Regions from separate parts of the Homo sapiens genome. Here region 2 is linked to region 1. The links are contacts of gene promoters, found by promoter capture Hi-C in human tissues and cell types (Jung and others, 2019). All regions are on one chromosome and are shown on one strand. The core of a region is centred on a gene start or on the middle of the fragment in contact, and the rest is flanking DNA. Distances in the headings are between cores, read along the strand shown.

What was found. Contacts are between HindIII fragments. The study calls those that stand out against the background at their distance.
Region 2: a contact is called between a fragment that was not itself captured here and the fragment with the promoter of ZNF37A in region 1, in 1 of the 25 tissues and cell types used here (dorsolateral prefrontal cortex).

Annotation. Positions count from the first base shown.
Region 1 is chr10:38,091,990-38,096,801 of GRCh38, forward strand. It overlaps ZNF37A (zinc finger protein 37A), which reads left to right and starts at 2,348. Exons shown (of 8, transcript NM_001324250.3): 1 at 2,348-2,501; 2 at 2,942-3,235; 3 at 3,549-3,640; 4 at 3,755-3,815; 5 at 4,585-4,643. The coding sequence starts at 4,629. It also overlaps the pseudogene FXYD6P2. RefSeq lists an enhancer at 2,302-2,491. The HindIII fragment of the contact is 17,106 bases long and covers 1-4,812 here.
Region 2 is chr10:38,055,257-38,060,068 of GRCh38, forward strand. It overlaps ZNF33A (zinc finger protein 33A), which reads left to right. Exons shown (of 5, transcript NM_006954.2): 5 at 1-4,812. The coding sequence ends at 1,304. Among named protein-coding and RNA genes, the nearest start is that of ZNF37A, 37 kb to the right of the region's middle. The HindIII fragment of the contact is 5,674 bases long and covers 1-4,812 here.

The DNA of each region.
Region 1 (4,812 bases), core at 1,098-3,597:
GCTGCACTGGCCATGACAATGAGGGCCAACAGGCTGCATAGGAATATCAGCACCACCTCCATGGTGCCTGCACAGCCAGTCCCCTTCCTGAGATGATCCCAGGAGGATGTGTCGAGTCCCAAGGAGCCTAAGAGTGGCATGTCCCTAGTTTTCAATCTCTTTAGGGATAGGATTATGCAAATTGAAAGAAGAGCAAACAATGTTACTGAAATAATCCATGGCATAATGGAACCTGAATGCATTAAAGAAATAATGGAGGGCAGGAGAGGTGGCTCACATCTGTAATCTCAGCACTTTGGCAGGCTGAGGCGGATGGATCAATTGAGGTCAGGAGTTTGAGACCAGCCTGGTCAATATGGTGAAACCTAGTCTCTACTAAAAACAGGAAAAATTAGCTGGGCGTGGTGGCATGTGCCTGTAATCCCAGCTACTGGGGAGGCTGAGGCAGGAGAATCACTTGAATCTGGGAGGCGGAGGTTGCAGTGACCCGAGGTCTTGGCACTGCACTGCAGCCCAGGTGACAGAATGAGATCCAGTCTAAAAAAAAAAAAAAAAAGAAATAATGGAATATTCACAAGTGTCAAGACTGTTTCTTAAAATGCAAAAGCATTAGGCTGGGTGCAGTGGCTCATGCCTGTAATCCCAGCACTTTGGGAGGCCGAAGCGGGCGGATCACGAGGTCAGGAGTTCGAGACCAGCCTGGCCAACACAGTGAAACCCGATCTCTACTAAAATTACAAAAATTAGCCGGGTGTGGTGGCACAAGCCTGTAGTCCCAGCTACTTGGGACGCTGAGGCAGGAGAGTCGCTTGAACCCAGGAGGCGGAGGTTGCGGTGAGCCGAGATCATGTCACTGCACTCCAGCCTGGGTTACAGAGCCAGACTCCATCTCAAAAAAAAAAAAAAAAAAAAAAAACATTATGAGCAGGAAAATAAATTGTGTCTCGAAGTGATAATCATTGTTGTACTTACCATGACTGTCTTCTGAAATGCATCTCAACCCTTGAATAATTTGATTCTTTTACATGGATGGTACTAAATGCTTTTCCAGCATGGGAACAAGTGGGATTATCATCAGTGGTGGTAAAGAAGGGAATAGAAATGGAGAAAAATGCTTCTTTTTTGGTCAGTGGACATTTATTTTTTATTTTTATTTTAACTTAAACTTCAATAGCTTTTGGAGTACAAGTGGTTTTTGGTTATGGATGAATTATAAAGTGGTGGATTCTGAGATTTTAGTGCACCTGTCACCTGAGTAGTGTACACTGTACCTAATGTATAGTTTTTTTTTTTTCATTTTTGAGATGGAGTTTTGCTCTTGTTGCCCAAGCTGAAGTGCAATGGCGCGATTTCAGCTCACTACAACCTCCACCTCTCGAGTTCAAGGGATTCCCCTGCCTCAGCCTCCCAAATAGCTGGGACTGCAGGTGTGTGCCACCACGCCCAGCTAATTTTGTAGTTTTAGTGGAGACGGGGTTTCACCGTGTTACCTAGGCTGGTCTTGAACTCCTGACTTCGTGATCCACCCGCCTCCGCCTCCCAAAGTGCTGAGACTACAGGCGTGAGCCACCGCGCCTGGCCATGTGTAGTTTTTTTAACCTCCGGCCTCCTTCCTACCAGCCCCTTCTGAGTCTCTAAAGTCCATTATATCACTCTGTATGCCTCTGCGTACTCATAGCTTAGCTCCCACTTATAAGTGAGAACCTACGGTTTTTGGTTTTCCACTCCTGTATTACCTCTGCCTGTGAACTTTAAAAAGTTATCGTGATCAAGAGATCCTGCATACTCCTGAAGAATGGAAAATGCATGTTTGCCATGCAAGATGGTATTACGTGGTTTAACAAATAAAATTTGAAGAGCAATTCCGAGTTATCTTTACGACAGCTTACAGGCTGGTAATGCTCATGTCCAGCGTGTTTTCTCACGGTTAGCGTCCAATGGACCAGAAAGGAGCAAGTGAAGCTCTCCACACTGGCGCAAGTGTAGGTGGTGCTGCGGCAGCGTCGCGGGGCCACAGGAACCGACCTCGTCTGGAGAAATTCCACTCGTGAATTCTGCCAAATGAGGAAGTGTTGAGGACGGCCAAATCATCAGGGGGATGTAATTCATGAGAAAGCTGTGTAATTTAAATACTCATAATTTATTTCAGCTAACGAATAAAACTGCAGTACTGCACTTGCCGCATCTGGGAACTAACTGCCCAATGCGGCTGAAACCTCATGCCCTTTCAAAAGGAGTGGCGCGAGGGCTTGTGGGAAATGTAGTCTGCACTTTCTAAGGGAGCGGCGCGAGGGCTTGTGGGAAATGAAGCGTGCACTTTCTAAGGGAGCGGCGCGAGGACTTGTGGGAGATGTAGTGTGCACTTTTCGGCCCCCGTCGCGGGAGCCGCTTCGGGCCTTCTGGGCATGTCTGCCATATGGCTCCAGGTTTGTTTTTCTCCCCGGCACTCTGACGGGGAGGGCTCCCGGCATCTCCTGGCGTCCGGGTAGAGGACGCGGAGGGTGAGTAAGGGAGGGCAGGGGCGAGGGTGGACTGGGGGTTCCGCGCGGCCTGGGGGTGGGAGAGAGGGAACGCCTTTGCCGCCTGGCCTGGGTCCGAATCCTGCCTCGGTTCTTGTGCTCCCAAAGGGAATGCGCAAGTCCCGCGCCTGTGACAAGTGAGGTTGGATTTTCTCTTCCCTGAGGTGAAGGATGCCCGGAGGCCTCCGCAGGACGGCGCAGAAACGGGCCTTCTGCCCAATAGATGCGCGCTTCTCTCATTCTTTCCCCTCAGAATCTCGCTGTCCTCACAACCACCTGTGGTCGGCGTCGCCGCGGTGTCACTGCGATGCCGAGGCGAATGGGGTGGGGGGAAGCGCCCGCGGGGCGGGGAGGGACCCTGCAGGCGCGGACTCCACACCCAGCCTCTGGCCAGCGTCACTCGGCTTGCTGTGTCCTCGCAGGTCGCAGCTTCATTGCCTGATGTCTTCGGGAAGTATTTTGAAGTCATCGTGGCTGTGGATTGGGGAATTTCTTGTTTCCACTGACCTGTGAGGCCGCGCACGCGGAGGGAGGCACCCCAGGCCCTCCGGCACTGTCCAGCCTCGCCTGTGTCCCCATTAGCACCAGTGGGCATTTTCAGAGGGTCCAGCTCATGGCTCAAGTGACAGGAAGATGTAGGAGCTTTCTGTCTTGAATGAGGATTCGAACCAAAGGGCTTAGGCCCAGCTGTCTTGGAGCAAAGCAGCTGTTGTGGGGTAAGAAGGGAAGGGTGGGGGGCGAGGGCCCAGGGGCCCTCCTAGGAGGACACCCAACCCGTTGGGCTGACACCTCACTAGAGATCTAGAGCACGGGTGGGAGGAGCAGAGGCTCGATTTGTGTCCTTTCCAGACCCCCACAGGCTGGGAGCTTTGTGCCCATTCAGATGTGGGGGCAGAAGAGGGCAAGGCCGAAGGAGCAGACAGCACCGCTTCTTGGGGAGTTGTGAAGGCATCATGCGGAGGGAAGAGCTTAGCAGCCAAGTGGAGGACAGCACCCTCCATGCCTGGATTCGTTACTCGCTCGTTCTAGATGCTGAGCTGCTGGCGCACTGCAGCACAACTAGAGATGTACGGATGCCCCCATCTTGATCTTACAGAATCAGAGGTACAGCCGCGAGAAAGGTCTGTAAGTTATCTATTTACGCTTTATTTAAAAGATGGGATGGGGTGGGGTGGACAGGAAACGAGCTTAACGTGTTAAGTTACTGATGACATTGACACATTTTGTTGTGGCAGAGTCAAGAACAGACAGAGTCGCTTGAGGACTCAGGAGGGTGTTTGCTGCGTTGACAACAGAGTAAGTAAAAATCAGTTTGCTTTTTTAAATCCAAAGATTGTTTTGAGAACCTCAAATCAAGTTAGAGCAAGTTCGTTTTCCTTCCAAAAAAACTGGGCTGGGCTGGGCACGGTGGTTCACGCCAGTAATCCCAGCACTTTGGGAGGCTGAGGGGGGTGGATCAAGAGGTCAGGAGTTCGAGACCAGCCTGGCCAACATGGTGAAACCCCGTCTCTACTAAAAATGCAAAAAATTAGCCGGGTGTGGTGGTGCGCACCTGTAGTCCCAGCGACTTGGGAGGCTGAGGCAGGAGGTTGCGGTGAGTCGAGATCATGCCATCGCACTCCAGCCTGGGCAACAAACAGGGCAGGACTCTGTCTCAAAAAAGCAAACAAACAAACAAAAAAAACTGGGCTGAAAAATACCACATCGCTTTTTTCAAAACCTTGTTGGGATTCTCTGGTTTGTAATAAAGATTAAAACCTGAGTATTTTTGTTTAGCATCAGTTTTAATGAAAGTATTATGTTCCACTCTTTGGCTTTTCCTAACTTGCTTAATTAGTTTAATATATCGGTTTGCATACTCTGTTAGAGTACAGCATAAATTGTTTTTAAGTCAGTAGAAAACAAACGTTTTTACATTTGAAAACTAATGAGTCCAAGCAGTACATAATCATGCCAGAGTCATGCATGGGCGTGTGAGTATCTCCCTTTCAGAGATGTTTTGCCGGCTGCGAAGTGGACCTTTTAAGGCAAGTGACATCACTCATGATCTTTTCTTATTTCTCAGCTACACCCTCACAGTTTGCTCTGCTCTTCCAACACCAGTGGAAGATGATCACATCCCAGGTAAGTTGTTTATTTTTTCACCGTTTTGCTTAAAAGTAATTATTGAGGTTTAAAAAATGTCTATACATTCATATGAAAGTAGAAATAACATCAGGGAAAATATAGAGGAGAGGTCACATTACATTTCATGGGTCAAATGCAGCCTGCCGCATGTTTTTTTATGGTCCAC
Region 2 (4,812 bases), core at 1,507-4,006, 36 kb before region 1:
CACACACAGGGGAGAAACCTTTTGAATGCAATGAATGTGGGAAAGCCTTTAGCCATAAGTCAGCCCTCACATTACACCAGAGAACACATACAGGGGAGAAACCCTATCAATGTAATGCGTGTGGGAAAACTTTTTGCCAGAAATCTGACCTCACTAAACATCAGAGAACACACACAGGGCTGAAACCCTATGAATGTTATGAATGTGGAAAATCCTTCCGTGTGACTTCGCACCTTAAAGTACACCAGAGAACTCACACAGGTGAGAAACCTTTTGAATGTCTTGAGTGTGGGAAATCCTTTAGTGAAAAGTCAAATCTTACACAGCATCAGAGAATTCACATAGGAGATAAATCTTATGAATGTAATGCATGTGGGAAAACTTTCTACCACAAGTCATTACTCACCAGGCATCAGATAATTCATACAGGGTGGAAACCTTATGAATGTTATGAATGTGGGAAAACCTTCTGCTTGAAGTCAGACCTCACAGTACATCAGAGAACACACACAGGGCAGAAACCCTTTGCATGTCCCGAATGTGGGAAATTCTTTAGCCATAAGTCAACCCTCTCTCAACATTATAGAACACACACAGGGGAGAAACCCTACGAATGTCATGAATGTGGAAAAATCTTTTACAATAAATCATACCTAACTAAACATAATAGAACACATACAGGGGAGAAACCCTATGAATGTAATGAATGTGGAAAAGCCTTCTACCAGAAGTCACAACTCACTCAGCATCAGAGAATTCACATAGGGGAGAAACCCTATAAATGTAATGAGTGTGGAAAAGCTTTCTGCCATAAGTCAGCTCTAATTGTACATCAGAGAACCCATACACAAGAAAAGCCCTATAAATGTAATGAATGTGGAAAATCTTTCTGTGTAAAATCAGGACTTATTTTCCATGAGAGAAAGCACACGGGGGAGAAACCCTATGAATGCAATGAATGTGGGAAATTCTTCAGGCACAAATCATCACTCACAGTACATCACAGGGCTCACACAGGAGAGAAATCTTGTCAATGTAATGAATGTGGAAAAATCTTTTACCGTAAATCGGAACTTGCTCAACATCAGAGATCACATACAGGGGAAAAGCCCTATGAATGTAACACATGCAGGAAAACTTTCTCTCAAAAGTCAAATCTCATTGTACATCAGAGAAGACATATAGGAGAAAACCTTATGAATGAAATGGATATTAGAAATTTCCAGCCACAAGTCAGCCTCCATAATGCCTCAGAGTATTCACACTGTGGAGAAAGCCCTGATGACATCCTGAATGTTCAGTAACTATCCACAAACTCACCTTATGTTACTCCAAAGTAATAGTAGGGGATAAACCCATAGACTACAACAATTATAGGACAGCTTTTGTTAGGAAGTGATATTCTATGTAATATCAGATGGTTAATACGGGCATAACACCTTACAGATTTTTTTTGAATTTGTGAAAGTTTTTGGCAAAAATGCAAATAAGGTTATGTTAGAATTTACACTGAGGAGAAAATTGTCAATTTAAGAAATCTAAAGTGAAAATTTTGCTTAGAAATAAAATACGACAAGTTATGTTTTGAGTTTGATGCCATAATAGTTTTTAGGGCACCTAACAATAATTTATAGATGTATATTGTGGAATGTAAAGCTTTAAGAACTTAAACAAAGGTAATAATTAAAATAACCTCACAAGAAGTTTAATGAGTAGAGAGAATTCCCATGTACACTTCACCAAACTTCCTCTAAGGATAATGTATAATCATAGTATATGGTCAAGTCCAAGAAATCGATGTTACCTTGCTGGTAGATAGAGACTTAGTCAGATTTTACTATGGTTTGCATGCACTCTGTGTGTGTGTGTACGTGTATGTGTGTGTGTGTGGTTATATCAAACTTTTACGACTTTTACATTTGAGTAACCATCAACACGATTAGTTTACAGAACTGAAAAGGAATCTGAGATCTGTACTGTATCAGGATTACAAAGGATTTAGCCTCAAGTAGTTCCCTTTTTGTATTAATAACCACACGCTTTCTGCAACCCTATCCCTTGCATCCACTTGACTATGAAGTTTTTTTAAAGCACAGATAAATTGAATAATCAGGGCAATAGCATTAAGCACATCTGCGAATTATCCCTGAAGTTCAAAAGACTTATATATGTATAAGTGGTATGTGATATAAATCGTGTGTTTCATATGCATAATGGAATTTAACGTAATTGTGAATAGGAAGTAGGTATCCTAGTTTAGTAGTGGTTACATTATCAGGCCCATCCCAGATGTTTGTGATGTCCTGAAACAATTTAAAAGGAGACCCACAGAGCTAATGTTTATCCATTTAAAAGGTATAAATCAAAATAACAAATTATCTAAAAAAAATCTATCCTGTACATGTGAAGATCTAGGCTCGCCTCCATGTTACTCCCTTTCTCTTCCTACCTGTGGCTCATGCCATGCCATGAAGTGCCTAGGGTACATATGTGAACATTCCAGCCTTCAGCATAAGTGGTAGTCCAAATTTTCTTTAAGCAGCTGCTCTCCAAGACAGGGCCCTGGAAAGGCCCACACATACAGCCCAGGGCTGCCCAGGGCTGTTGGACTGTCATTTCAAGGCTCATTGTCCCCAGACAGGGATCTGGGCCCTCAGACTTTTGAGAATATGAAGAGGAGGGTTGAGGCTGGAGCAGAACCAGAATCAAGCTGGTGTGGGGCTTTTATTGATAGTGTGAAGATTGTACACTATATTACATGATCAGATCATACAAATAATCTAAGATTATACAGTCTAGTGATCCTAGATTACACAAGTAATCTAAGCTTCCACTTTAGGAAACTAGAAAAAGAAGAGCAAATTAAATCCAAAGTAACCTGAAAAAACATTAGAGTAAAAATCATTGAAATTGAAAAGAGAAAATCGATAAAACCCAAAACTGGTTCCTTGAAAAGGTCAGTAAAATTGATAAACCTCTAGCTAGCTTAAGAACAAACAGAAGACAAATATTGCTAATACCAAAAATGAAAGAGGCCATCACAGCTAATCCTATGGTCACCAAAAGGATTAGAAAGAAACATGGACAACTCTGTCCATAAATTTGATAACTTAGCTAAAATGGACCAATTCCTTGCAAGACGCATTCTCTCAAAGCTCACACAAGATAGACCTCAATAGGCATATGTATCTATTAAATAAACCAAAGCAGTAATTAATAACCTTCCAAGGCCAGGTACAGTGGTTCATGCCTGTAATCCCAGCACTTCACTTTGGGAGGCTGAGGCGGGTGGATCACAAGGTCAGGAGTTCGAGACCAGCCTGGTCAACATGGTGAAACCCCCTATCTACTAAAAATACAAAAAATTAGCTGGGCATGGTGGCATGCGTGTGTAGTCGAAGCTACTCAGGAGGCTGAGGCAGAAGAATCACTTGAACCTGGGAGGTGGATGTTGCAGTGAGCTGAGATTGTGCCACTGTACTGCAGCCTGGGTGACAGAATGAGACTGCATCTCAAAAAATAATAATGAAACTTTCCAAAACAAAGTGCCAGGACCAGCTGGGTTCACTGATGTGTTTTTGAGATACTTAAGGTAGAAATGATACCAAGTCTCTACCATCTCTTTCAGAAAATAAAAGCAGAGATAACACTTCCCAACTCATTTTGTGAGGCCAGTATTACCCTAATAGCAAAACCAGGCAAAGATATTACAAGAAAGGAAAACTACAGATCAATATTTCCATTGAACACAGATGCAGAAATCCTCAAAATATTAGCAAATCAGGAATGCAAGGCTTGTTCAACATTTGATATTCAGTGTAATCCATTGCATGCATTAGCAGCTCAAAGATGAAATACGATCATATCAATAGGTACAGAAAAAGCATTTGACAAAATCCAATATCCATTCATGTTAAAACCTCTCAACACAGAAGGAATACAGGAGAACTTACTCAAGTTGGTAAAGAACATACTACAAAAAACCCTACAGCTAACATTATCCTTGATGTTTCCAACTAGACACTTTCCTACTAAGATCAGGAACATGGCAAGGAACACCACACCACTGCTTTTCAGCATTGTACTGGAAGTGCTATATAATGCAGTGTTAAAAAAAAAAGAAATAAAATGCACATAGATTTGAAAGGATGAAATACAACTTTGTTCACAAGTAACATGATTGTCTTTGTAGAGAATTCTAAATAACAAAAACCCTGCTGACATTAATAAGCAATTACAGCAGGATTGCAGGATACAGTCCTCAGGTAGATGATAAAAAGGAATTGGACATCAAGTCATTAAAAGACACGGAGAAACCCTAAATGCTTATTGTTAAGTGAAAACCAATCTGAAAAGGCTTTCTATTTTGTATGATTGCAATTATATGACATTTTGGGAGAGGCAAAACTATTGAGCCAGTGAAAGGACCAGTGGTTGCTGAGAGTTGAGGGGAAAGGAGGGATGGCAGGTAGAGAGGTGATTTTTAAGGCAGTGAAAGTACTCTCTAGGGTACTGTAATTTGTCAAAACGCAGAGAATGGAAAACAGTGAACGGAAAACACAGAGTAAACCCTAATGTCAACTCTGGACTTCAGTTAATAATAATGTATCACTGTTGGCTCATTAATTGTAACAAATGAACCATAATGATGCAAGATGTTAATGATTGGGGAGCCTGTGGAAGATGGGAGGGGAAAGGGTTATATGAGAATTCTCTATACTTTTTGCTCAACTTTCTGTAACCCTAAAGCTACTCTAAAAAATGAAGTGTATCAAGTAAATAAATAACCAACCAACCAACCCTGAGGAACAT